Regions from separate parts of the Homo sapiens genome. Here all the other regions are linked to region 7. Evidence: promoter capture Hi-C in 16 types of primary human blood cells and fetal thymus (Javierre and others, 2016). All regions are on one chromosome and are shown on one strand. Each heading gives the region's core, a stretch centred on a gene start or on the middle of the fragment in contact. The rest is flanking DNA. Distances are from core to core; before and after follow the strand shown.

The links. Contacts are between HindIII fragments. The CHiCAGO score rates a contact against its expected background, and 5 or more counts as called.
Region 1: a contact is called between a fragment that was not itself captured here and the fragment with the promoter of KCTD9 in region 7, in 2 of 17 cell types (total CD8 T cells and activated CD4 T cells). The highest score is 7.3, in total CD8 T cells.
Region 2: a fragment that was not itself captured here is called in contact with the fragment with the promoter of KCTD9 in region 7 in 1 of 17 cell types (total CD4 T cells); the score reaches 5.6 in total CD4 T cells.
Region 3: a fragment that was not itself captured here is called in contact with the fragment with the promoter of KCTD9 in region 7 in 1 of 17 cell types (naive CD8 T cells); the score reaches 8.1 in naive CD8 T cells.
Region 4: a fragment that was not itself captured here is called in contact with the fragment with the promoter of KCTD9 in region 7 in 3 of 17 cell types (non-activated CD4 T cells, total CD4 T cells and naive CD8 T cells); the score reaches 7.5 in non-activated CD4 T cells.
Region 5: a fragment that was not itself captured here is called in contact with the fragment with the promoter of KCTD9 in region 7 in 2 of 17 cell types (naive CD8 T cells and activated CD4 T cells); the score reaches 6.3 in naive CD8 T cells.
Region 6: a fragment that was not itself captured here is called in contact with the fragment with the promoter of KCTD9 in region 7 in 1 of 17 cell types (total CD4 T cells); the score reaches 8.9 in total CD4 T cells.

The regions. Positions count from the first base shown.
Region 1 is chr8:19,820,328-19,824,354 of GRCh38, reverse strand. It overlaps INTS10 (integrator complex subunit 10), which reads right to left. Exons shown (of 17, transcript NM_018142.4): 4 at 3,837-3,976; 5 at 1,835-1,916; 6 at 914-1,054; 7 at 311-482. Among named protein-coding and RNA genes, the nearest start is that of INTS10, 4.9 kb to the right of the region's middle. The HindIII fragment of the contact is 3,239 bases long and covers 1,127-4,027 here.
Region 2 is chr8:31,020,922-31,024,930 of GRCh38, reverse strand. It overlaps a transcript of PURG not described here. Among named protein-coding and RNA genes, the nearest start is that of PURG, 10 kb to the left of the region's middle. The HindIII fragment of the contact is 4,121 bases long and covers 116-4,009 here.
Region 3 is chr8:30,737,187-30,741,554 of GRCh38, reverse strand. The region is part of intron 1 of LOC105379356 (a long non-coding RNA gene); the gene reads right to left. LOC105379355 (a long non-coding RNA gene) reads left to right here. Exons shown (of 2, transcript XR_949634.2): 2 at 581-772. It also overlaps a transcript of UBXN8 not described here. Among named protein-coding and RNA genes, the nearest start is that of UBXN8, 4.8 kb to the left of the region's middle. The HindIII fragment of the contact is 2,961 bases long and covers 640-3,600 here.
Region 4 is chr8:17,251,248-17,255,136 of GRCh38, reverse strand. The region is part of intron 1 of VPS37A (VPS37A subunit of ESCRT-I); the gene reads right to left. Among named protein-coding and RNA genes, the nearest start is that of VPS37A, 6.2 kb to the right of the region's middle. The HindIII fragment of the contact is 1,604 bases long and covers 1,568-3,171 here.
Region 5 is chr8:31,039,094-31,042,985 of GRCh38, reverse strand. The region is part of intron 1 of WRN (WRN RecQ like helicase); the gene reads right to left. Among named protein-coding and RNA genes, the nearest start is that of WRN, 7.2 kb to the right of the region's middle. The HindIII fragment of the contact is 2,663 bases long and covers 680-3,342 here.
Region 6 is chr8:30,812,580-30,816,557 of GRCh38, reverse strand. PPP2CB (protein phosphatase 2 catalytic subunit beta) reads left to right here and starts at 3,740. Exons shown (of 7, transcript NM_001009552.2): 1 at 3,740-3,978. RefSeq lists a silencer at 3,867-3,978. The HindIII fragment of the contact is 613 bases long and covers 1,226-1,838 here.
Region 7 is chr8:25,456,999-25,460,996 of GRCh38, reverse strand. KCTD9 (potassium channel tetramerization domain containing 9) reads left to right here and starts at 2,564. Exons shown (of 12, transcript NM_017634.4): 1 at 2,564-2,798. The coding sequence starts at 2,751. It overlaps CDCA2 (cell division cycle associated 2), which reads right to left and starts at 1,764. Exons shown (of 15, transcript NM_152562.4): 1 at 1,524-1,764; 2 at 697-757; 3 at 443-613. The coding sequence starts at 757. RefSeq lists enhancers at 1,866-2,095, 3,466-3,515 and silencers at 2,236-2,445, 2,806-2,855. The HindIII fragment of the contact is 4,823 bases long and covers 465-3,998 here.

The DNA.
Region 1 (4,027 bases), core at 1,497-3,996, 5.6 Mb after region 7:
TCGCCTGGCTAATTTTTGTATTTTTAGTAGAGATGGGGTTTCACCATGTTGGCTAGGCTGGTCTCGAACTCCTGACCTCAAGTGATCTGCCCACCTCAGCCTCCCAAAGCACTGGGATTACAGATGTGAGCCATTGTGCCCAGTCAGAAATGTTTTGATAAAATGAAAAACCATCCTCTTTTGCATTGAGTGTCACAAAATTTGCCCAAAAACTATACCTACGCATTACACAGATTTAAAAAGCATGATTTTGTTTTTATAAGGATCCAAAAGAATCAATAGGCAATTCTGGAAATAAGCTATTTATTACCGTCTTCCTTTATCCATCTGCCATTCACATCTCATTCCAACAACATTCAAAATCTTAAACAACCTCTCCCAAGGGTCCACGATCTGGGATGATTTTTCCGTCAGCCCTTCTATTATGTACTTCTGAGAGCTACGTTTGCTAGGTGACATTAAATCAGATGTATCCTGGGCGCCTGAGATGTAAGAAAAAAGTAGCCTACAATTAACATTATGACTTACTGTTGACATGGTACCTGATAAAGAAAGTCTGACTCCCCATGAAAATGCACAGAGCACAGAATTCCAACATACTTATGTTTTGCTCAAGGACCGACAAGAGGCCACTGGTATAAGCAAGAAGTAATTTCCACTACTTCATCATGGTACATTTGTAATGTTCCATGCAATAACATTACAGCTCAGCCAGAAGACTGTTTTGATCAAGGGGTGGCATTGCTTCCAGAAAAGCCTCATCTTTTAGTATTTTTTTTCTAGATACCATCTTTTGAAACACTCCCAAACTGGTAAGTATCCAGAGGAGAATAATCAGAACATTGAGGGGTTTCTGAATTTTGCAATATTACTAAAGCCTATTTAAGTAAAAGTACAGGGTATTCCTACTTACCTTGATGCTGATTTTCTATTTGAGTAGACCTAGTGACATAATTGATATAAAATTCAGCTGCTTTGTTCAAGTACTTATACAATAAATTGGCAGGTAATCGAACATCATGGTTGTTAATTATTAGAGGAAGGACATCACAAACTGTTGGAGGAGAAAAAGAAGAAATAAATTAATTAGGTTGTCTACCCTAGAGTTCCGATAAATACAAAAGCTTTCAGAGTTCATTTGATGTAGTATCTAAAATATATAGGGGGAAAAATCCCTTATGACTCATGTATTCAAAATGTGCTGTGCAGAGAGACACCAGTGGCTGGAGTCAGGGAGGAAACACAGACACTTTTATGCTGTGGGTGAGGGTCCAGTTCTTCCATTGAATTCAGATGTTTATTACTATGCTTCATACTTACATATACAGCTATGCATATTCTTTCAGAGGTATCAAATCTTACATAACAAAAGTTTAGAAGTTGTTTAAAATGCTTTTTTTTTTTTTGAGACAGAGTCTCACTCAGTCACCAGGTTGGAGTACAGTGGCGCGATCTCGGCTTACTGCAACCTCCGCCTCCCAGTTTCAAGCGACTCTCCTGCCTCAACCTCCGTAGTAGCTGGGACTACAGGCGTGCGCCACCATGCCCAGCTAATTTTTGTATTTTTAGTAGAGACAGGTTTTCACCATGTTGGCCAGGATGGTCTCGATCTCTTGACCTCGTGATCCACCCACCTTGGCCTCCTTAAGTGCTAGGATTACAGGCGTGAGCCACCGCACCCAGCTAAAATGCTTCTAAATTAAAAAAAAAAGAACTTAAATGCCATAACACATAAAGCTCCTTTGCCTTTCATATATGAGCTTATCCCTGAACCAACACTTACCCCAGCATATTAATTTACCATAGAAGTAATAGAGAATACAATTTTCCTTACCAAATAATTTTCTAAAGCAGTTCACTGGAGATTCTTGTTCTTCAATAGTTTCAGCCTCTAATAGTGCCTCCCCAAGGCCAACCTATTTCAAAACAAAATTACTCATTTAAATGTGTTACAGCATAAGTTGTCAGAACTATATGAAGTAATGGGGTATTTTTTTTACTTATCACAGTTTGCATAATCAAACTTATCTGAGAAACAAATAATCACATTTTAAAGACTGGAAAATAAAAGAATGCACCAGCCACACACCCTAGAAGGCCAAATTCACCTGAACATCTGACCACTCTGTCTTGGTTATTCTCTTCATAATTAGCAAATTCTAATTAACGATGAACAAGAATTAACAAAATGTCTATAGAAATGTAAAGGAAGCAATGGAACTGGAGTTCAAATGATAATACAGAGGTAGAGAGATTTTCTAAGAAATAAAGAAACTAAGGTTATTCTCTACATGAAGATGTATCAATATAGACAAAACGTATCACGTTCAAGATAAGTTCTGAGGTGTAGCCAGTCATACAGTCTGGTGTAGAATGGACAGAAAAGTCAGAGTTTTAAGGCTACCTTTCCATTACCAATGCCTTAGCATAGTAGACGGTCCCTTACTCAAATCCACCAAGACACTGGTATCAACTTCCTTGTGACCACACAGGGATGCACCACAGGAGTGGAAAAGTGCGAAAGATTACATCACACAGAAGGTGAAAGGTCAGAGTTATGACCAGAAAGTGTGCTGGGCTGAACAGTGCCCCCCCAAATTCATATCCCCGCAGAACCTCAGAATGTGACCTCATAGACATCTTACCTTTTTTTTTAAAAAAAGTATCTTTGTAGATATAATTAATTAAGATGAGGTCATGGTGGATTAGAAAGGCCCTCAATCCAATGACTAGTGTCCTTATAACATGGCCATGTACACACACCTGTAATCCCAGCTACTCAGGAGGCTGTGGCATGAGAATTGGTAGAACCCAGGAGGCAGAGGATGCAGTGAGCCAAGATCATGCCACTGCACTGCTGCCTGGGCAACGGAGCAAGACTCTGCCTCAAAAAACAACGACAAAAAAGGCCATGTAAAGACAAAGGCACAAAAGAAAGAAGATCATGTGGTGATGGAGCAGAAATTGGAGGAGTGATGAAGCTGCCTGCCAGGGAATGCCAAAGATTGCTGACAACCATCAGAAGCCAGGGAGAGGTAAAGAAAGATTCTTCCCCAGAACCTTCAGAGGGAAAGTGCCTCTGCCAACACCTGACTTTTAGACTTCTAGCTTCCAGAATTGTGGGAGTCCTTCTGTTGTTTTAAGCTACCCAGTTTGTAGTACTTTGTTATGGCAACCCTAGGAGACTAACACAAGCAGGTATGGAAATGATTAACCCGGGCCAGACGCCAGAAAATGGCATGGGAAATAAGCCGCAGAGTATGAACGAATGGAGTGAATGGTTTGAAACCTGACACCTCACTGGCTATGGGAAGTTACTAAAACACAAAATGCTCAGTTTCGTCATCTGTAAAGTGGGATACTATTTACTTCAGGGGATTTAGGAAGATAGGAGATACCTAGCACTTTCCCATGCCTGCCAATAGCACTCGATAATTATTACAGATGAAGGAAAGGGGCAGGAATAGAATGAAAATAGTCTCCATAGGGCAGAAGCACAGGAAAAACGCATCTGTTAAGACTATAAACTCTACGCTAAATTCAAAAGCACATTGTAGAATACAACGGAAAAAGATTACTTTTTACCATATGGATTGCAATAAACAGTACTGTCAGAGCTTGGTGATTTTCCTGATAAAACAGCTTCTCCTGGAAACTTACAAAATATGGTGAAAAGAATGTCCTTTTAGCTTTACTAACAAAGAACCTTCTATTTCAGTTCAATCTTAACCAGTACTCTTCAGAAACTTCTGCTTTGTAGCTCCTCACCATACCGATGAATCTGTTGATGACCCATTGTATTTTATATTAAAAGAAGGGGAAGAATCAAATCTCACCCCATGCTGCACCACCGTTTCAGGGAAGCGCCTCAAAAGTAGAAGCAACATTTCTGATCGTTCTAACGTGTTGAAGCATTGTTCCGTGACCTTTAGTAACATTTCACACTGGACCCGACCAGGAAGAGTTTCAAATAAACCTGTACGAAACATATTTCACTTTTAAAAGTTTCTTGCGGACAGAAAAGACT
Region 2 (4,009 bases), core at 927-3,426, 5.6 Mb before region 7:
AAATTTTTCTATTCGGTTTTCATTTTCCTAGGGAAAGGGAAAAATTGTCCCTGATGAAAAGTGTTTATAGTATTTAAAAGAGTTGCTCAAAGTGTAAGACTGGGGAAAAAAAGCTTATGTTGTTTTTTTTGTCTTTATCAAAATAATGGTATAAATCTGATTATCTTACTTGATCTGATTAAAGTCAGGATTACTTTTATCAGAAACTTTTATATTCAAAACATATTTAGTATTTTATTTTTCTTAAAGAAAATGGTTCTCTTGGATAATACAGAAATCTTCAGGATTTTGTTGTGGATTCAATGAGGTTGTTGCCTAGAGGTGGCAAACAGAAAAGAAAAAATAGAAAAGAGAAAGACAGTGGCTGATTATTTTGCTTGTCTGTAACGAAATTCATCTAAGAGAAATAAGTCATTCTCAAAACTCAACCTCTGTTTAACCTTTAAAAGAGCATTTGAGAAAGAATAATAAGACGTAATTCTGCCAAGGTGCGGCCTGACCCTGAGTAAATCATTCAACTTCTGTTGGATGATTTCCTCATGTGAAAGATGAACAGTATTGTGCTGGAAGCTAAGGTTCCCTCCTACTCTAAATGTTTAAAATTCTGTATCAGTGGACTGTGAAAGGAAAAATAGATGGATAATACCAGAGTTGGAAAGTGTGAGAGTTTATCTGTTTACATTAAAAACAACTATAATGATGCAGCAACCTGTGATGATACCCAACGGAACAATGCAAAAAAATGTCAGTTTTATAATATGTATGTATTTCTTTAGCCACACAAAATAAAATTTTGTTTCTAGTCCTTATTAAGACCAAGTTGTTGTATACTAACTACGTAACTATCCTAAACTTTAATTTTTTAAAAGGAATATTTTTAAATATTGATTATTTCCCATCTCCTTATTATATCAAATATCTCATTATTTGGAAGGAGCATTGCTTTTTTCTGCATATTCTGTAATCATTTTTTATATTCTGCATGGCAAAGGAATTTTACAGATTAATATCACTTCCTGAAATGCCATTTTTCCTAAAATAACCATAGATCACATTGCCAAATAATACTGCAGCTGTCATGGTAGTGGTCCCTACTGTCTTCGATTCCTTTTTGTTGATCCTGTCCAATATCCTATGCTAGAAATAATGATGTCTGACAAAGACCATCAGAAAGGATACTGACCTGTGAACTGTATGGTTCTGTTTTAGAGGACTTGTAACTACTAGGGTATGCAAAGATTAAACATCTAATGGTTTGGGGGTTTTTTTTAGCCTTAAGAAACGTCAAAGGATGGTGATTGGAAAAGAGAAGAAGCAGCACACAAGGGTTTTGTCTTAGAAGCATTTATTTTATTTATTTATTTATTATTACTTTTTTTTTTTTTTGAGATGCAGTCTCACTCTATCGCCCAGGCTGGAATGCAGAGAAGCATGTATTTAAGCACCCCAGTCCTCAGCTATGCAGTGCCCCGCCACTGCCAGTGAAGAGGCTTAAAAAAGAGTGACATGTTTCTCCCTAGACCTCTCTTTTAGTGCCTATTTGTTTATCAGAGACTCCATTTAAGGGTAACTGAAGTGTATTTTCAAGTGCATATGCATGTGTATTTTGCTAATTTCAAAAGTTTCTGTGCACATAAATTCCATTACGGAAACATTCCATATGATAACTAATCTTTGCCCTGGTGGTGGTTCAAAATAGCAATTTGGTTGGTCTGTTTTCAACAAATTCTATAGAATGAATTGGCTGTTGTTAGAAAATGTTTTCTCTCTTTTCTCCTCCCTCTTCTCAAAATAGCAGATACATTTTAAATCCTTGATTGCTTCTTTTTCAGTGGTGTTTGAAATCTAAGTGGGATTTGAGAGAATAGTTTAGTTTGGCAGTTCTTTACCCTTGCCATTTTGTAGAAACTTTCCTCAGCTTCCCATCAGATATTCTAAGCAACTTTACCAAAAGAAGTCACCTACGTGCCAAAACTGCCGAGCAAAATAAAACAACAGAGCCATAGAAAATGATGTAGGAGTAAGGATAAAGATATATACAGACACCCAAATTCACAACATTCCTTATCATTTGCTAATTTACTTCAGAGACTGTTGTATTTTATTTCTTGGTTCTTCAAACTAGCAATGTGGTTTATTCCAATGATTTGTCAGTCTAGAATGTCAATAGAACAAAATCTTTTGCTGCTTAGTAAATGTTCCAAAAAGGGTATCTCATGTTATAATCAGTTGTAAAAATAGAATTCTAAAATTCCATTCATTATAATCCTCTTTCCTTCTTCCCTCCTGTACACTGTACCCTATTGGAAGTGGGTAAGGGCATTAATTTCTTTCACTATCACATGGACCCACTCCATCCTATTTATTTGTTCAGAAGACAATTGAAACATAATAGAGACCAGAGCTGCTCTTTGAAAATCTAGAAATTGCCCTGTGAGCTTGATCTATAGACTGTAAGAAAGAAGGGTTACTACTTCACTGAACTGTTCTCCACGCTCTTGCCAGATTTCTATATGACAGTTTAGGATGAATAGAAAACAGATTTGACTTGGGATGACATGAACTGAAAGGTCAGTTCCTCCAGCTTTTCAATACACAGTGCATCTTCAGAAAATATTTTTGACGAGCATGATTGACAGGTAATTTCAGAAATGAATTTAGGCTGGGTGTGGTGGCTCATGCCTGTAATCCCAGCACTTTGGGAGGCCAAGGCGGGCGGATCACTTAAGTTCAGGAGTTCAAGACCAGCCTGACCAACATGGTTAAACTCCGTCTCTACTAAAAATACCAAAATTAGCCAGGCATGGTGGCACGCTCCTGTAATCCCAGCTAGTCAGAAGGCTGAGGCAGGAGAATCGCTTGAACCTAGGAGGCGGAGGTTGCAGTGAGCTGAGATGGCACCACTGCACTCCTGCCTGGGCAACGGAGTGAGACGCCATCTCAAAAAAAAAAAAAAAAAGAAAGAAATGAATTTGGTCCCTAGAGAAGTTTCACCATGACCATTTTAAAAGAGCAGGTGGTAAGAAAAGGAAGAGTCAATTAAGATTTATTAGTAGTAATAACTATTGCTTATGGACCACCCACTGTATACTAGACATAGCTGGGCCCCTTATAGCTACTATTCCTAATCCTTATAACAACCCTATTATCCCCATTTTCATATGATTTTCCAGAGGTTTATAAACTGGTTCAGAATATCAGAACTAATGTATTTGAACCCAAATTTACACCAAAGCCAACGATTGTGCCCGTTCAGTTAGGCCAAACTGCCTTTCAGATTTCCTATGAAGCTGATCCTTCCAACTCTAATAAAGCACAGTCTACCCCCAGCCGCCACTATACATCTGCCTCAGCTTACTTGGAATTATTTTATCCAAAACCGTCCCCTATATGTGGGACTAGTCTCACCAAAGAGACACTTGGCTTATATGAGGATTCCATTGGTTAAAGTTGGTGCTAATAAATACAAGTTATTTGATCTTTAGTTTACAGATAAAACCTCTAATCTTGATCAACTATTTCCAATAAACTTTTTAAAGGGATCATAACTTTTTAAAGGGATCAGATCATAAGAATGTAGAAGAGCTTCACAGTTTCATCCCTAAGGGCAGAGAGGAGACAAATTACTATTCACCATGGGTCTACAATTTCATTTTCATGAACCAAAAACAACTGGTTACGTTATCTTAGTTTCAAAATAAATCTTATCAATATTTTTGGAAGTTTTATTGATTTCTTACAACTTTTTCCTGCCATCTTATTGATGTCTCACAACTTTTCCTGCCATACTCCTCCCTATATCATTCCACTCATTTTCATATTTAATTACCAAATTTCCTCCTCTTTCTCTTAATTCCAGTACAATAAACAGATAATTCTCCATTTACAGATACATATTTTTCCCCATTACTATAGGGCACTAATTTTCAAACTTCAGTGTGAATACAAATCATCTTGATGGTTTGTTAAACCACAGATTGCTGGCCCCAGCTCAGAGTTTCTGTTCAGT
Region 3 (4,368 bases), core at 871-3,370, 5.3 Mb before region 7:
ACTTGAACTCAGGAGGTAGAGGTTGCAGTGAGATCATACCACTGTACTCCAGCCTGGGCAATAGAGTGAGACTCAGTTTCAAAAAAAAAAAAAAAAAAAAGAACATTGCTTTGACATAATCTTAGTCGTGTCTCAGAGGGGACGTCAAGGGTGATTTTTATTTGTTTATGAGACAGGGTCTCACTCTGTCACACAGGCTGGAGTTCAGTGGCACAATCACAGCCCACTGTAGCCTTGACCTCTCAGGGTCAAGCAGTCCTCCTGCCTCAGCCTCCAGAGTAGCTGGGACTGCAGGCACATGTCACCATGCCTGGCTAACTTTTTTATTTTTTCTATAGACAGGGTTTCACCATGTTGCTCAGGCTGGTCTTGAACTCCTGGGCTCGAGCAATCTGCCAGCCTCGGCCTTACAGAGGGCGATTTTTATAGGGTTCTATAGTCTAGTTAGAGTGGTTTAAGGTGGTCTTTTCAATATGGAGATTTCACTGGGATTGGACATAGTTCATGGTAGAATAGTTTGAGACGGTACACCCAACAAGGTGAAGAAATTGAAGTTAGATTTTCCCTCTTTTTTGACAAGGAAGGTGATTTGCCCAATTCAATGATCAGCTCAACTTCTCAGTGCCTGAGAAGGAAGCTTTGCAGCCTGATGAGCAACTTAGAGACCAGATAAATGGGAAGTTCCTAAAGCTCAGAATGAAGGTATGGATTGACCTATAGCCTATCTTCGTGAGTAAGAATTCCTGGAACAGTAAAATCAGGTTGATTTAGAGCTCTTAGTTCTCATTGGTGATTGTTAAGCTGTAAGTTACTGGTGTCTCCATTCTCACCAAAAGGGTCTCACTCTTGTCACCCAGGCTGGAGTGCAGTGGCACAAGCATAGCTCACTGCAGCCTGGAACCCCTGGGCTCAAGCGATCATCTCACCTCATCCTCCTGAGTAGCTGGGACTACAAACACATGCCACCATGACTGGCTAATTTTTATTTTTTCTTTCCTTTCTTTTTTTTTTTTTCCAGGAGATGGGGTCTTACTATATTGTTCAGGCTGATCTTGAACACCTGGTCTCAAGTGATTCTCTAGCGTTGGCCTCCCAAAGTGCTGGGATTACAGGTGTGAACCACCGCGCCTGGCCTGTTTTCTGCTCCTTAATTGCCTTTGGCCAAAAAATAATTTTTATCTCAAAGAGGCATATCTTGGGGTGGCACCTTCTGGTTTCCTTCACATACTTCATATGATATACATACTTCATCGTGCATATCATTAAACACAATGAAATGGACACATCATGAGCATACCATTCCTTGAGTTCCAATGTATGCATACCCAGTGCAACCTAAATCCCAAGCAAGATACAAAGCACTGACTGACCGTGGCGGCTCATGCCTGTAATCCCAGCACTTTGGGAGGCTGAGGTGCCCAGGAGTTTGAGACCAGCCTGGACAACATGGTGAGACCCCATCTCTACAAAAAAACACATTTTTTAATTAGCTGGGTGTGGTGGCATGCACCTGTGGTCACAGCTACTCCAGAGGCTGAGGCAGAAGGATCACTTGAGCCCAGGAGGTGGAGGCTGCAGTAAGCTGTGTTTGTGACACTGCACTCCAGCCTGGGCGACAGAGAGAGACCATGTCTCAAAACAAAAAGCAAAAAGCATTGCACAGAGAGCAAGCATTGCTCTGATTTTTTTCCACCATAGGTTAATTTTGCCTCTTCTAGGACTTCTGTAAATTATACAAAATGTACTCTTTGGATAAGGCTTTGTTCACACTGTATGCTTTTTTAAACATTTTATGAGATAATTATAAATTCACATGTTGTTATAAGAGGTCACGGAGATTGCATAAATCCTTTACCATTTCCCCCAGTGTTAAAATTGTGCATAAGGACAGTATAATACCATAAACAGGAAATATATATTGACACAATCCAGTGACTTCATTCAGATTTTACCAGTTACAGATACTCATTTGTGTGTGTGATTTAGTTTTTTTATTTTATTTTTATTTTTTGAGACAGGGTCTCGCTCTATCACCCAGGCTGGAGTGCAGTGGCACAATCTCGGCTTACTGCAAACTCCACCTCCCAGGTTCACGCCGTTCTCCTTCCTCAGCCTCCCGAGTAGCTGGGACTACAGGCGCCCGCCACCACGCCCGGCTAATTTTTTGTATTTTTAGTAGAGACGGGGTTTCACCGTGTTAGCCAGGATGGTCTTGATCTCCTGACATCGTGATCCACCCGCCTCGGCCTCCCAAAGTGCTGGGATTACAGGCGTGAGCCACCATACCCGGCCATGTGTGATTTAGTTCTATGCAATATTATCACCTGTGTCAATTTCTCTGAACACTACAGTCAAGATATAGAGTAGTTCCATCACAGGAATTCCTCATGCTACCCTTCTACAGCCAAACCACCTCACTTTCTACCCTCACCACCATCAACCCCCATGAAACCACTCGTCTGGTCTCCGTCTCCTTTTTTCCCCCTCCATCTTAATTGAGGTATAATTGAGTTAAAATCCATCTCTTTAATTTTGTCATTTCAAGAATATTATATACATGAATCATACAGCAGCAACAACAACAAAAAAGCCTTTTTTGAGATGGAGTTTCACTCTTGTTGCCCACGCTGGAGTGCAATAGCACAATCTCAGCTCACTGTAACCCCTGTCTCCCAGGTTCAAGCGATTCTCCTGCCTCAGCCTCCCGTGTAGCTGGGATTACAGGCGCCCGCCACCACGCCTGGCTAATTTTTTGTATTTTTAGTAGATACGAGGTTTCACCATGTTGGTCAGGCAGGTTTCAAATCCTGACCTCAGGTGATCCACCCACCTGAGCCTCCCAAAGTGCTGGGAGTACAGGTGTGAGCCACCGTGCCTAGCTTTTTTTTTTTTTTTTTTTTGAGACGGAGGCTGTCGCCCAGGCTGGAGTGCAGTGGCACGATCTCGGCTCACTGCAAGCTCCGCCTCCCAGATTCAGGCCATTCTCCTGCCTTAGCCTCCTGAGTAGCTGGGACTACAGGCGCCTGCCACCATGCCGGCTAATTTTTTTTGTATTTTTAGTAGAGACAGGGGTTTCACCATGTTAGCCAGGATGGTCTCGAGCTCCTAACCTTGTGATCCGCCCGCCTCGGCCTCCCGAGTGCTGGGATTACAGGCGTGAGCCACCGCACACGGCCTTTATTATTATTATTATTTTTTAAAAAGACAGAGTCTTGATTGCTCTGTTTCCCAGGCTGGTCTCAAACTCCTAGGCTCAAGCAATCCTGCCTCAGCCCCCTGAGTAGCTGGCACTACAGGAATGTGTCATTGCACCCAGCTGTTACTGACTTTTTGATGAGAAGTTTTTAATTTTGATGACAATTTATCTAAGTTTTCTTTTATGATTATTGCTTTCTGTGTCCTAAGAAACCTTTGCTTTTCTTGAAGTCGAGAGATTCTCCTATTTTTTTTTTTTTTTAAATAGACACAGGGTTTCACCATATTGTTCAGGCTGGTCTTCAACTCCTGAGCTTAAGCAATCTGCCCACCTTGGCGTCCCAAAGTGCTGAGATAACAGGCATGAGCCACCGTGCCCGGCCTCTATATTTTCTTCTAAAAGCTTTGTATTTTAGCTTTTACATTTAGGCTTATGAAATTGCTCTTTTAGTAGTCTCTTTTTCCCCCCTAAAAAATAAGATGGCTACGTGTGTGTGTTGGTTGTTGTTGTTTTAACAGGGTCCAATCGTGTTGCCCAGGCTGCAGTGTGGTTGTACAATCACGGCTCACTGCAGCCTCCACCTCCCAGGCCCACGTGATCCTCCCACCTCAGCCGCCTGAGTAGCTGGGACCACAGGTGTGCACTACCATACCTAATTTTTTTGTTTGTTTGAGACAGGGTCTCGCTCTGTTGCTTAGGCTGGAGTGCAGTGGTGAGATCACGGCTTACTGCAGCCTTGACCTTCTGGGCTCAGACTAGGCACCAAAATCACATAGACTTGATTCATCCAATGAACAATAAATATGATGCACCTACCACACCCCAGGTGCTGTTACAGATGCTGGAGATATAGCCACAAATAAGACAAGATTCTTGCACACCATGGAGTCTGTACACTAGTGTGTGATGACTAGTTTTATATGTCAGCTGGGATGGTGTTTTTGGATGAAATTAACATTTAAATCACTTAACTCTGAGTAAGCAGATTGCCCTCCATTATGTGTGTGAGCCTCATCCAGTCAGCTAAAGGCCTGAATAGAAAGAAAAGAACAGCTTCCCCGAGTAAGAGTGATTTCCCAACAGACTGCCTTTGGACTGGAACTGCACCATCATGCCAAAAAGCAGAAGGTAACACAAGCAGGAGAAAAAAAAATCAATCAACAGAAACAGAC
Region 4 (3,889 bases), core at 1,120-3,619, 8.2 Mb after region 7:
TTTAACTGAACACCAACCATATATCCAGCATCCTGCAAGGAAATGGAAATACAGAGATGAATATGGGGTGTTTTGTGCTCTGAATGAGCATACAGTGTGATGAGAAACTCAAGTTACTAAAAAGATCAATTCAAGATAATGATGTCATGCATTTTCCTCAGTGTTGGGTAACTCAAGTAACGTTTATAGGTGAATCTTGCAAATAAAAGATTCAAGTGCTTAGAATAGATGGAGAACAGACAGACAAACATCCTATCTAAATCTCTATGATTTAGATAAAAAAATCAAAACAGATTTTTTATTTTTAATTATTATGGATACATAATAGTTATACATATTTATGGGGTACTTGTGATGTTTTGATAGAAGTACAAAACAGATTTTTAAAAAGCAAATCCATAACAGTGCTGAAAAGCAAAAACTACCATATACAGATAAATTTTGAGCAAACTGACAAACAGAAAGGATTACATGTAAGAAAGGAGTGAACATTTAAAAAAAAAAGAAGAAAAAGAAAGTAAACAAGGAAAAAAATCACAATCCAAAACATAAGTCCAATATAAAGTTTGGAGCAGTTTGAAGGTCCTCTAAGCCCTTGAACCAGGTCAATGCAAACTAAGAGTTTGGGGGGAAGAAGGCAGGTCAGGAGCATTTCTCAGAGTAATTAATCAACAGGGTGACATTCGTGGAGCAGCAGGTAGGCTAGGGAATTAGCCTCTTTTCCTAGCTTGTTTCCAGCTTGTTGCTGGTAAATAGCAGTAATATTTGCATTCAGATTAACACAGAGACAGCCTCTAAGCTAGCGGAGACTCCTCAGGAAGTTACTAACCCCATGACAGCTACTGACTCCCCAGGAAGCCTCCTTTTCCAGAAGATAACTATCAACTTGCCCTACCTAAGGACTCGTCATTCTTATTCTTCATCACCAGAAGCAGACTATGGCAAACAGTAAGTATTCACAAACAAGTCAACAGGGAAGCTCAAATACAGAAACGAGAACGTCATAAAGGTTTGAATAAAAAAAAATCACGCAAACTGTGCACCAAATTCAACAAATTGAAACATAAAAAACTCAAGAGCAAAGACAAGATGACTATAAATTTATGTAATATCAGAACAACAAAAGACAACAGCACTTGCACACACACACATACTTACACAACTGATATAAGAATGAAAAAGCAAGAAACTGGAAATTTAAAACAAATAGCTCCAAAAATGGTTCAGTGTTGTTTGGAAAATCCTTCATACTATAGCTGTCTCTTGGAGAATGCTGATCCACTTTAGCACATTAAAGATTTTGAGAAATTCCAAAGTAAATTGTGTTTGTTTTCGAAATCTGTGTTAACATGGAGCACTTATTTCACATTTTTTTAATAGAACACATGATAATGACTGAGATGTACAAAGAGCTATGAAAACACAGAAGAAAGCACCTAACCTAGCGGCAGTGGGGTCTTCTGGAAAAAATAATATCTGAGTTACATTTAAAAGAGTTAATACTCAGAAAAGTAAATCAGGGAAATACAGTGTACATTTTAAATGGAGAAGCCCTATCAGAAAAGCTTCAGATACAAAATAACACAAGTTCTCCAAAAGTCTCCATAGCCTTTGCCATATATGAAACGTTACATTCTGTTTGTTGATATCTTTCCACCAGTCACATCACCATCTTCTGTGACAACCAGGAATCAAGTTAAGGTGGCTGGCCTTTTTTGACAAGAGTTAGGAAACTACTGAAAGGAGTGACATGGTCAAATTTGAATTTTAGAAAGATTACTCTGGCAGCAATGTGGAAGAAAAGGCAGAGGGAAAAAGGCTGGAGGCAGAGAGAACTGTTAGAACCTTGTGGTAGTAGACATGGAAGACTGAATGGAAATGGAAGACGGCACAGGTTTTCGGCTTAGGTGAGCAAACAGCAGAAATGGTTTGGAAGGAGTTCAGGTTGGGGGGAGGGGCAGATGTAGCTGATTTAACTAGCAATGGAGAAATGACTGCCTTATCATAACTTTTTTTTAAAGCAGTAACGGACTAATATTTCTAATGAGAAAATTAACTGAGCACTTGAGCTGTATGATATTTCTTAAATGGTACCATGCTTTATTGCGTCATACGCTCTGCAATTATACGTCTTAATCACTGGTTACAAATAGACAATATAATTTAATGTGTCAAAGTTTTAACTTAATTACAGGATTGATACGCATAATTTTAAAGTTTACTATATAGAGCTCAAAGTGCATTTACACAGTCAAAATGTTGATATTTTGGAGATTTCTGTAGCTTCAATGGGCTAAGGCATAACAGATGCTTGTAGAATTTTTTATTACAAGTTAATGTTATTTCCTTCCATAAAGAAGTTTTCCTATCAAATAACTACACCAGCGAGGTAACACACATGAATGAAGGCAGCTCCTTGTAGTCCAACAGGGAGTGAATTGCAAACTAGTGAAATGGGTAGTGGGTAGCCCAGCAAAGCAGACAGCTACTCTTCAGCTTGAAGCAAATGTTGCTATGTGGAAACCAATCTTTCCAGATTTTCCATTTTAAAAGAAGAGTTAGAGACGACAGGGGACATAGGGGAAATCTTCTGCCTTTTAATTTTGCTGTGAACATAAAACTACACTAAAAATAAAGTCTATTAAATAAAGAAAAATTGGGCTGGGTGTGGCAGCTCATGCCTGTCATCCTAGCACTTTGGGAGGCCAAGCCAGGCAGAGTGCTTGGGCCCAGGAGTTTGAGAGACAAGCCTGGGCAACATAGCAAAACCCCATCTCTACCAAAACAACAACAACAACAACAAAAGTAATTAAACTTATGAGCCAGGCATGATGGCATGTGCCTGTAGTTCCAGCTACTTGGGAAGCTGAGGTGGGAGGATTGCTGCGGTAAGCTGTGATCGTGCCACTGCACTCTAGCCTGGGTAACAGAGTGAGACCCTGTCTCAAAAAATAAATAAATAAAAAGGAAACCTGGAAATTTTAATACAAAAATTGCAAATTTTGACTGTTGATAATAAATGCTTTTCATAAAAATATATAACATGCGACGGGTTGAAACACAGACATACACATCCCTTCATTACAATATCTCTTGTGTTACCAAGTTTGTGTGTGAGTCCTCATGAGCTGAGAATGAATTCTATAGAAACAAGAGCATGGAATTTAAGCTTACTCAGAATCCCATGAGATAGGGGGACAAAGTCTTATAGCTGTGATCAAAACGTTAAGCTTAGCAGCTGTGGGGGAGAACTATACAAGAGCTGACTCTACAAGAAGTTTTAAGGCTAAACATTTAGGCAATCAGAACAACGGAATCCGCAGACTGGCAGCAAAAGAAAATATTAAAACAAATTTTAAAGACTAGGGAGAATGGCACTACTATTTTAAAGATAGGGACAAGAACAAAATACAGTAACAATTGCTGTTTACATCTCCTGTGTGCAAGATAATAATTTAGGTTATTTACCTGCATCATGCCTAATTTTATGAAGAAACTAACTGTCTGGAATGGACTTGCTTTCTAAATGGAAAGTCAGAAGTAGTTCTGCCAGAGACAGATAAGTTGTAGGTAAGCTTATGAGAGATCTACAAACAATAAGCTGGCTAGAAGCTTATAGGCTAAGAGGCAAAGATTCAAGCACACTGATTCTATGCAGTAGAAAGAAGGAATGTAATTCGTCCTATGCCTACTATGTGCTAGATACTCTTCCAAATGTCTTACATATATTTTTTAGTTATCAAAAATCCTGCATGACAGGAATCACAATTGCTGATTTTACAGATAGGAATTGGAGGATCAGGGTTGTCTCACATAAAAATATCCAAAACATGAGACATTTCTTCCTCCCAGTCATTTGTTACTATTGCTGAGAAAACATTTTGAGCAG
Region 5 (3,892 bases), core at 762-3,261, 5.6 Mb before region 7:
TTGTTGACAGGATGGGATAATTAAAATGTAAGACCACTTCTTGATCTGACTTTTTGAAGACTGAATAGAATTCCATTTTATCTATCATAATTTAACAATTCCCTATTGATGATAATTAGGTTGCTTGCGAATTTCACCAAAAATAACGTTCAATGAATACCCTTGTGGATATGTGGGTATTGTAAGGCATTCCTATCATTTCTATAGGATAGATTCCTAGATATGAAATTACTAGGTCATAGAGTACTCTACTTCTCTGCTTACCTTCTCACCAATAAATTATTCACAATAGTATGCTAACCCCAAAAGGTAAAACTAGACAAAGAAGCAGCCCACACAGAAAGCCAAGAGAAACTTCCACAGTAACAGGGTTAACCTAAAACACTGGTGAAGGATTTCAATCTGACAACTATGAAAAGGTGCTTTAAGGCACCTACTACTCCTACAAGAAGAGTCTCATCAAAGAATAGAAGTCCATGAAGGGCTGACTATTAGTTACAATATAACCACATGTAACTCAACACCTAACTTTGTGGTGTTAGATATAAATCAAATTGATGGTATTTGAGTTGAGTGTTAATGGACCATCATCATCACCATGACCATCACCATCAAAACTATAGCCATTAATATCTATATCCTACCCTTTCCCCACTACTTGTCTAGTAGATCACAAGCTTTGATGTATAATATCCAAGGGAGATAGTGCCTCCCAGTCTTCTGACCAGCCCTCCTCCAGTGATCTTGTCTGCATCCTGCTCCACCTATTTATTCCTACAAAGATACTATGTTATTACCAACGACTGAATCCTTCCATAATCTCAATTCCATATATCCCACTCTCCAACCAACACCTCCTGTTTTTCAAGTTCATTCCCTCTAGAAACTCAATTCCAACAATCTTTTCATCTAACTGGGGCTTTTAAGGGCCCTGCTACCATATCATTGTCCTCACCCCTTGGGCAGTCCTTAATTCTCTTCTTGACTAGTTTAAACTCCAAGTTAACAGCCACTTCCTTGCATACTCCCTCAAATTCATTGCCCTTCTGGCTTTATTACTATCTCCTGGCAAAACTCTAACCCCGAATAAAAAAGAACTCTTGACCTACTCTGTGCCTGTACCTATGCAGCTGAATGAATGCAGCAGGTGAAAAGCACAACCATTTTGACTGGTCTCACCTTAAATTTGTGACCACCAGCCTCAAGTGGGCCCTTACTACTTCCTGGCAATCCTACAACTTTTCCCTAATCTATTTACTATCCTCCCCTCCTAAGACTATTTTATACCTTCTCCTCTCCACTTAAACTTCATATCTCCTCCACCGATCGTCACTCTTAGCTGATGATCTTGCTTCCGATTTCACTAGAAGCAATCAAAAATGAATTTCCACAGGCTCTTACCCTGAAATCTATATCACATAATTATATTTGTACCCATATACTCTACTGTGGTGGTTAATTTTATGTGTCAATTTGAGTGGGCCATGGGGTGCCCAGATATTTGGCTAACCATTATTCTGGGTGTGTCTGTGAGGATGTTTCTGGGTGAGACTAACATTTGATTCAGTAGACTGAGTAAAGCAGATTGCCCTCCCTAATGTGGGTGGGCCTTCAATTTGTTGAAGGCCTGAATAAATAAAAAGGCTAAGTAAGGGAAGATCTGCTCCCTCTGCCTGTCTTTGAGCTGGGACATTGGTCTTCTCCTGCCTTCAGACTTGGACTCAGACTGGAACTTACACCATAGGCTCTCCTGGTTCTCAGGCCTTCACAACTGGCCTGGAACTATACCATTAGCTCCCGTGGGTATGTCTCCTGGCAGATCTTAAAACTTTTATAATCTCTTCATAGATACAGAGACAGAAATACAGATAGAGATGGACACAGAGATATAAAGATCTCCCATTGGTTCTGTTTCTCAGGAGAACTCTAATACATCTACCTTTTCTTATGTAACTATGGATGAACTATCAGTACTCCTACATCCAACCTCTCCATGTGTGCAAACCTCTCATCTACTCAAAGACATTTTCTCGAAGACATCTACTCAAAGACATTTTCCCATCTCCTACATCATCAACTTTTTCCTCTCTACTGGTCTGCCAGAAAAGACCCATCAACATATACGCAATTTTTTCCAACTAAAAAAAAGAAGAAGAAAAAAAAACTCAACTTTTGGCTAACTGCTCCATTATTATTCTCCCCTTTGTAGGAAAACTACTCAAACGAGTCATCTATAATAGCATCTCTGTTTCCACTCCTTTAATCCTCTCTTAAACCCACTGTAACCACTCCACTCCACGAAAAGGGCTCATGTCAAGGTTTCCAATGACTTTTATGTTGTCAAATCCTATAGCCAATTCTCAACGCTCATCTGAGTCAATGTACCGGCAGTAAGTGACACAATTAATCACACCCATCTTCTTGAAACATTTTATCAGGTTTCTGTGATAATTCTTGAGTCTCCATCTATATCAATCCCTTTTCAGTATAACAATCCCTTTTCAGTATACTCTGCTGCTCCTTCTTACCTCCCCAATCTCTAAACATCACAGCATTCCAGGATTCAAGTCACAGACCTCTACTCTTCTCCCTCTACACTCACTCCCTTAGAGTCTGCTGGCTTTTAAATTAGCTGTTATACACTAATGACTTCCAAAGTTATATAAACAGCCTAGACCATTCCTCTTAACTTCAAACTTTGATAGCCAATTATTTACTGGATATTTGAATCTCTAATTGGCATATTCCACTCAATAGATATAAAGTTTCCCCAAACTGCTCCTTTTGTATATTTCCCATCTTAGTAAGTCACCTTCATCTTTCTGGTTGCTCATGCCAAAAGCCTTGGATTCATCCTGACTCATCTCCTCCTTTCACATTCTGCATCTAATCTGTCAGCAAATACTGTTGGTTCTATCTTCAAAACAAAGCCAAAATTCGACCTCCTCTCACCACTTCCGCTGCTACAATGTTGGTTCAAGCCATATTACCTTTTACCTGCTTTTCCCTATGGCCTATGCTCAAAACAGTAGCAGAGTGATTCTGTTATAAGATAACACAATTTAAAGGACTATATAACATAAGTGACTGAAATTTACCCCAGAAAGGCAAGGGTGGTTCAACATAAGAAAATTAATCAATATAACACATTACATTAAGATAAGGGAGGAAAAATACATGATCATTTCAATTGACACAGAAAAGGCATTTGACAAAATCCAACACCCTTTCATGATAAAAACTCAGAAAACTAGGAATAAAAGGGTATTTCCTCAACATGATAAAGGGCATTTATGAAAACCCACAGCTAACACCATACTTAATGGTGAAAGACTGAAAGCTTTCCACCTAAGATAGGAAGCAAGACAAAGATACCCACTTTCACCACTGCTTTTCAACATCATATTGAAAGTTCTAGCCAGAGAAATTAGACATGGAAAAGAAATAAAAGGCATCCATAATGGAAAGGAAGAAGTAAAACTATCTCTATATACAGATGACATAATCCCATATAAAAATCTCAAAGAAAGCTACTAGATCTAATAAGTAAATTCAACAAAGTTTCAGAGTACAACATCAACGTTGAAATATCAGCTGTTGTTATACACCAGAAATGAACAATCTGAAAGGAAACTAAGAAAGTAACTGCATTTACAATAGCAGCTAAAAGAATAAAATACCAAGGAATAAATTTAACCAAGGAGGTGAAAAACGTGTACTCTGAAAACTACAGAATGCTGCTGAAAGAAATTAAAGAAAACACAAATAAATGGAAAGATATCCCATGTTTATGCATAGAAAGACTTAATATTGTTAAGATGTCAATACTACCCAAAGTTATCTACAGATTCAATGCAATCCCTATCAAAAGGCTTTTCTGCAGAAATGGAAA
Region 6 (3,978 bases), core at 283-2,782, 5.4 Mb before region 7:
GATATAAATGATTCATATTTCATATTTTAAATGGTATATAATACATTAGGAAAAATATCAATGTTTATATATTTTAAAAGAGCCTAGTCAATTAAGTAGGAAGAAAATCTCACATGTACTTTTAAGGCAAATAATCTGTGGAAGATTTCTTTTTAATTATTTAACCAAAAGGAGAGAGGTAAACAGAATAACAATAAGAAAACCTCTAGGTCAAAAAAGAAAATTAGATCTGGCCTATAAACCTAAGATTAAATGCAGTTTGGCATGACAAGTAATTTAGCAAGGATTGGAGGTTGATGGTTATGTTCTGAAGGAGAACACACACACACAGACACACACACAAACACACACGTCTGACAGAAGCAGAAAGCAAAAAAGAAATAAGTTTAAGAATTATTGTTCTTCCAGACTGGCCCACATGTTGAAACCCTGTCTTTACTAAAAATACAAAAATTAGCCGGGTGGTAGTGGCATGCACCTGTAATCCCAGCTACTTGGGAGGCTGAGGCAGGAGAATCGCTTGAGCCTGGGAGGTGGAGGTTGCAGTGAGCCAAGATCGTACCACTGTGCTCCAGTCTGGGTGGCAGAGTGAGACCCTATCTCAAAAAAAAAAAAAAAAAAGAATTATTGTTCTTATTTATAATTAAGAGACCGTCACAACCAAAATAGCAAAAACTGATATTGTAAGTCATCAAGCCCCTTGGCCAATCTACCATTCTTGGGCTTTCCATGTTCCCATCCACACTGCAGGGACCATAGAACATAAAGCATGGAGTAGAACTCATATGTGAGTGTTAATCTGTACCCCACCAGTACTATCTGTGTGACTTGAACATGTATTTAAACCTCTACCTGTCTTTCTTTTCATCTGTAATATGGAAAGTATAATAACACCAGCCTCATGAGGTTACTGGAGCATTAAATGAGAAGCTACATGTAAAAACATTAGTATATAGGAACTACTCAAAGAAAGTATTCTTCTTTGTTCTACATCACTACTTGACTAAACTTCTTAGAAGTACTATTTTCACAAACACCTACTCACCTCTAAGAATATTCTCTCACATTCATTTCAAACACATTTGCTTCTATTTCAAGGACCTCCCTCCCTAACTACCATCCACAGTTCCCACTTGCCCTCAGGGTATATTTTGTTTTCAGTCCATCTTCTCTAGGAACCCTGAACATATTCTCATTCTCACTTTTGTTCCGAGCTTTCCAAGCTTAGCCGAAAATCAGCTTCCTTTTTTATGTATGTATTGAGACAGGATCTCACTTGTTGCCCAGGCTGGAGTTACGGTGGTGCAATCTTGGCTCACTGCAACTTCCGCCTCCTGGGCTCAAATGATCCTCCCACCTCAGCCTCCTGAGTAGCTGGGACTACAGGCATGCGCCACCATGCCCGGCTAATTTTCCGTAGAGACAGGGTTTCACCATATTGCCCAGGCTGGTCTTGAACTCCTGAGCTCAAGTGATCCTCCCACCTCAGCCTCCTAAGGGCTAGGATTACAGGTGTGAGCCACTGCACCTGGCCCAGCCTCCTTTAAAGCCTTATAGACTAACCTCCTCAGAGAATGTAATATCTATTGCAATGATATCTCACCAGTATTGTTTCATCACCTTTTGTGTTTTGTTCAACTGGTTTGCTGCTATTTACAAGCTGTTGAGAGCAGGAGCTCTTCCAGCCTTATTTCCAACAATATAATCTATTTCTGTTGCTAGGAGAATTTATAGCTTTCCAAACAGACAATGAATGGTCTTTCACTCATTTGTCTACTGGCACACGCACAAAAAAATTCCTTAGACCTTCTTTCCTCTTCTCCAGGCAACTTCAAGCTTTTGCCTTGAGAGAAGGTTGAAAATTCAGTTCAATTACCGCTTTTCTAAAGCTTTCTGTAATTGTTCCCTAGGAGGGGTAAGGCAACTAACATATCGCTCCCATACCGTACTATTGGGCAGGCACTTTTAAAACTTAATCTTCACAAAGGTAGGCCTTTTATTGATTTTAACAGATGAAGAATTTGAGGCTTACGGAGGTTTGATGATTGCCCAAGGACATAGCTAGGGGGTTAGCAAACACAAGAACCCTTGCTTTCTGATACAGGATGTTACCTTCCACTTGGGTTCAGCCGCAGTAGTATGTACCTTTAATAGACACAGTATGATCATTTAGCACATGCTATTCAAGGTATCTGGCAGCTAGCAGCTGCTCATGTTACCTAACTGAATTTAGGTCCTCCCTCAAGTACGGCAAAGCCAAACACTGACATTGGGGTTTGTAGTGAAAGTGAGGCATTTATTGCATTGCACCAAGCAAGAAGAATCAGGCAGCTCATGCTTAAGACCCCAACTCCCTGATGGTTTACAGGTAAGGGGTTTTTTGTGTGCTTTTTTTTTTTTTTTTGAAACAGAGTTTCACTCTTGTCACCCATGCTGGAGTGCAATGGCGAGATTTCGGCTCACTGCAACCTCCACCTCCCGATTTCAAGTGATTCATCTGCCTCAGCCTCCCAAGTAGCCGGGATTACAGGCGCCCACCACCATGCCCAGCTAGTTTTTGTATTTTTAGTAGAGAAGGGGTTTCACCATGTTGGCAGGCTGGTCTCCAACTCCTGGCCTCGGCCTCCCAAAGTGCTGGGATTACAGGCATGAGCCACTGCGCCCAGCCCAGGTAAGGATTTTTAAAGGCAGGGAGGCAGAGGTTACAGGCAAAGTCATAAATCAATACATGGAGGCTATACGTGGGTTTGATCTAAAAAGCCAGGATATCTGAAGCAGGGACCCACAGGTCATAGATGGATTCAAAGATTTTCTGATTTGCAATTGGTTAAGGAGGCAAAGCTTTGTGAATTCTTCCAGGCTCCTCAGGAAGAAATTTAGAACAAAGATAGGTAGTTTGAGATCTCCATGCCAGTGGACACCATTTTCCATTTGGTGAGGTCCAGGTTTCTGAAAAACAACTCAGGGACATATGTCGTCTTTAGTTTCTATAGGGAAGCAAACATTTTGTGAATCTAACGTCCTTGGCTACTGTCTTAAGCTATTATTACCTTCTTGCTTATCAGGTTGCTCATTGACTTATTGAGGAAGTTAGGTGCCTGGAATGTCCCTTCAGGGAACTCAAGATTTTCCTTTATTTCCATGCTTGGGGAGGGGGGTGCCTAGATGGCCCCTAAGAGGGGTCCCTGTTCTGTCTCTCAATAAATATTTGTTGAATGAACAAATCATTACAACTCAGTACACATTGCAGAAAATATAGCCAAGAGCTCTGGAGCTGGAAGGGCCACAGATTATCCTACAGAACAATCATTTCACTTTTCTAATGTCGAAAGGGAGGATTCGAGATGTTAGGGGCTACAGGTGAGGCTGGAAATAATTAATTTACTCCATCAATATTGAATGCCTGCTATTGAGTGCTAGACTCTGGGGAGACAATGTTAAGGGAAGCCCAAGTTTTCCAACTCCCTGTCCAGAGCGCTGCAAAGTACTGCAGGAAGCTAAAGTGAGGACAAAGTTCCCAGAGATCAGGATATTTAAAGGGAGAACCAGCAGAGCTTGGTCTGGGGCAGGGTGGGGAAAAGAGGGACCCTGGCCTCCTCGGACCGTTTCTCCGCCAAGCCACGCGAGGGCGCTGTTCTGCTCCTAGGGCGCCGTGTCCCGGCGGCGCCGCCTGCTCGCCTTTTCCCGGCGGAAATGCCCGAGCGATGACGGAAACCCGGAGGGAGGGGAGAGAAAGAGCGAGAGAAGGGGAAAGACAAGTCGGGAGAGGCCGGTAGGCGTGAGGCGGGCCTGAAGCGGCAGCGGGCGGCCTTCGTCCGGCGAGAGCTAGGCCGAGGACCCGCGCCGCGCTCCCCGGCACCTCACCGCGTCCTTCACCGACTCCCGCGGCGCGCGGCCGGGCGGGGAAGGGCGGGCGGGGGTCTCCTCCAGGCTGCGCGCTCGGAGCCGCCTGCTGGGCTTGGGCGGGGCGCGGGGCCC
Region 7 (3,998 bases), core at 1,315-3,814:
TGAGCCCAACCCTGTTTGTGATTGTTAAAGGAGGTACATCCTGCTCTTTCAGTATTATATTTTCTTAATTGCTCTTAAACTTTCTCTTATTTTTGCCATAAATGAAAACAAAATGCATTATTACTATTCATATCATACACCCTCCTGTATCCTAGGTGACAGGTCAAAAAGTGACTCACACACACATTATTTTCTAGTATTGGCATCAAGCACGACTCTGACTTGGGAACATTATCATGCTGGGTGCCCTGCGATTCCGTGATCCCTGCTATGCTAAATGAACTGTGCATGTGCAAAGAAGTCTCTCTGAAGAAGCAAGTTTGCAGAGTAGGCAATTTAGGTACCTAAAATATGACAGTACGTATAAACAAATAAAGCTGAGTTATATTAAAGTTATTTTTAAACTTGAAAAGCATTACAACAGAATGACAACTTTTCTTACCTGCAGAGTTCCTAACAAAGCTTTCAGGTGTAATTCCCAATTGCTCTACGGTTACTGTGGAAAAGTTCAAAGGTGATTTAAAAGTATCTGGTGTGCAAGGATTAGGAGGTAATTCGGCATGCTTCTGAGGAGTCACAATCTTCCCAGTTCCCAAAATGAAAGAGGCATTTCCTGAAACGGACGACATATTGTAGGGGTGAGGACAACTCTCTGTCTAAACCTTCAACTTCACAAGGAGGCAGATCATCACATACCAGCATTATTCATTGCAGACTCCTTGGTTTCAGGGGGCTTGTCTTTTGAATTGGCATCCATCTAAGAGGTGAAGAAAAACAATGAAAAATAACCCCACCAGCAAGATGAACGTGATTCGATCACGTACCTTATTCAGGACTGAATTGTAATACAGTCCATACTGGCATAGAAACACACGTCACAGGTTTCATTTTTTATTTTAATTTCTGTGGGTATACAGTAGATGTATAATTTATGGGGTACATGAAATATTTTGATACAGGCATGCAATTCGTAATAATCAAATCAAAGTAAATGAGGTAGCCATTATCTCAAATATTTATCCTTTTTGTTATAAACAATCCAATTATACTTCGTTATGTTTAAATGCACAATTAAATTATGGACCGCCACCCTGTTGTGCTAGCAAATACTAGATCTTATTCATTCTTTGTTTTTCTACCTATTAACCATCTCCACTTCCTTCCCATCCATCCCCAATACACTTCCCACCCTGTGCTAACCATTCTTTTACTCTAAGCGCGTACTTTTAAAGCCAAATTAAACAGAAAGAAATGGAGAAAACTGCTGTTCAGGCACCAAAGCAGACCCCAAAGGATAAGCCATGGCTTTTCAACCGTAGCGAAAACCTGAATCATAAGGGTACCCCTCTCAAGACGCAGCTCTATCCATTTCCAGAAATTCTCTCAACAGGTCCGGATGCACTCCTGGTCACCCAGAGCAGCTCCTGACAGGAGTACTAATTCTGTGCTGCAGGGTAAGCCGAACAAAGTGCCTAGAAATGCCCCGGAGAAACAGCCCCGTGGCAGCGCGGATGCAATCCTACCTCTCACGCCGCACCTGAAGGCCCGCCAGGCAGACAGGCTTACTCCCAGAGCCCCGTGGCAGGCGAGCGTCGCGTCGGCCGCTCCTTCCAGACCCCGGCTCCTCTGTCCGGAAGGGCTCTCCTGGCAAAGCACCCGCAGCCGGGAGCCGCTCTTCGAACCCGGAGCCCGAGGTCCCGACGGCTGACCTGGACTCACAGCCTGCGCTGATCCTGGCCTGCGCTCTGCCCGGCAGCCTCCTCCACCCGCCTCCTCCGCCCGCCGACCGATTCAAATCCCCGACCCCGCCCCTCGGTACCGAATTTACTCTACGAATCACTCCGCCACCTCCCCCTTCTCCAGTCCGCGCACACTCCGAGCGCTCCCAGGCCTCTCCCTCGGCACTGGAGTGGCTTCCTGGGCTCGGAGAGGGACCACCGCGAGCTGCAGTCAACCCGAGGACTACAGACACCTGCCACTGCCTTGTGACCTCGGGGACTACTTTTCAGGAGAGTCTCGCGGAGTAACGCTTCTCTTAGCGCTTTAACTCCGCCTCCCACCTTTCTATTGGATGCTGCAAACTTCGAAAAGACTCATTCAACCAATCCTAACAGAGCGACGAGCTGGCTCTTACCCAATCAGTCCGTCCCTACCGCAGCCGTTTCCTAGCTGGGCCGGCTTGTGGGCGGGGCTAACGCTGGAGGAGGGGCTGACTGGTGCTTGGGTCCCTTTCAGCGCTCCACCTCCTTTCCCCAGACCCCGCCCTCGTATGCAGATAAGCGCTACCTAAACTAGAGGGTGCGCCTGCTCAGTAACGCTGGAAGCCGCCGTCCGGCTCCAGGAGCCTCTCTGATTGGCTGATGCCCCTTCCCGTCTACTAGCCTTCAGCGTCTCTTCCCTCCCTCCGTCCCGGCTAGGTTAGCCAGAGCCCGCCCGATACTGGGTGCTGATTGGCTGGACTCTGTCCGGTGACGCGGGTTGGTTGGTACGGCAGAGTGTCAGTCTCGGAGAGGTGGGGGAAGGGCCCCAGGCAGGCTGAGGAGCCTAGGGGCGGGGTGGGAAGGAGGACCGGCCGAACCTTGGGTGTGGGACAGAGTGCGTGCGTGTGGTGTGTCCCCAAGGGCAGGAAGGTGGCGAAGGGAGGCGAATCCGAGTGGGTGGAGGGAGGGGAAGGGCGGGAGGAGAAAAAGGTGGGAGGAGGACCAGGTGGGAGGGTGGCGGCTCACTCAGGACCCAGCGGGGGCAGCGCGATGAGGCGGGTGACCCTGTTCCTGAACGGCAGCCCCAAGAACGGAAAGGTAACGGGGGCGTGAGGGGGCGCGGCGGGCCGGGGGTCGGGGCGAGGGCGGACGGTGCGGAACCGGCTGGCGGGGCAGCGGTGAAGTTGGGTAGAGGGGCTGGGAGGTGGGCGTGCGCGGGCTGGGGGCGCTCGGGGACAGCACAGGGTCCCCGCGGCCTCCTCCCGACCCTCAGGACCCCCGTGCCCGAGCCTGCCCTTCAGTGCCTCAGCTGCCTGGGGGCCGGCGCGGTTCGGCCCGGGGGCTCCGGGTCTCCCGGATGCTTGGTGCGGGGGGCGCGGGGACGGGGGCGCGGGGAGGGCCGCGGTCACCTGGGCGCCCGGGCGGTCGCGCCTCTTCCCGCCTCTCCCCGAGACCCCGCTCCCGCCTGCGGGAGGAGGCGCGCCGGCTCCGGTGCTGAGTAATGATCTGCTCGGAAAGTGGCGGCGAGCACCAGAGCCTGTGGAGATGGGTCAGGGAGACAGAAGTAAACTGCCCGTGGATAAACAAAATCTCCCATCCGAGGTCGCAGACAGGATTTTTAAAATGGGGGCATTTTCTTGTTGATTTTTGCCCTCCTCTCTGAGATGCCTCAAGCCCCCACGCCCCGCCGCCGCCAAACTTCTCTGTACTCTTTTTATTATTTTGCCTTATTTTGATTCCCTAGAGGACGGGTACAGCAGACCCAAAAGGGATCGATTTGACAGTCGCCTTTGCTGTGTTAGGCCTTTGCGGAGAGTGTGGTGCTCAGTGTTCTTCCAGCGCTGGAGCAAGCCAAAACGAATTCTCTTCCTTCCCAGCCTTTTGCCCCACCCATGAAAGTTGTTCTGCTCCTTTGGGAAATTTTCACTGTTCGAGGCAGACATTTATTGCGTTGCTAAATGATACCTAGAAGTAACTCAGCCTTTACGAGTCTAAGGTAAAGGTAAATGGGTCTCGCTGTGTTGGTTGCCAAAATACTCTGCTGCCTGCACATTCGGGGAACACTGTAAATTTTTAAATAGTGAAATTGTCCAGTGGCATTAAAAATGGCTTTCCGATTATTCAGTGTAGAGTAAACATGCTCCGAAAATTCGAACCAGAGTGTGGTTTGTTGGCTATAATTTTATGTTCTTTTGGTCTTAGAGATTTAATACTCATTTAAAATCAGAATTCGTATAAATTCGAGTTCTTGAGTTATCATGAATGCTACCCCGAAAATATGTTCACGAAGTTTACATT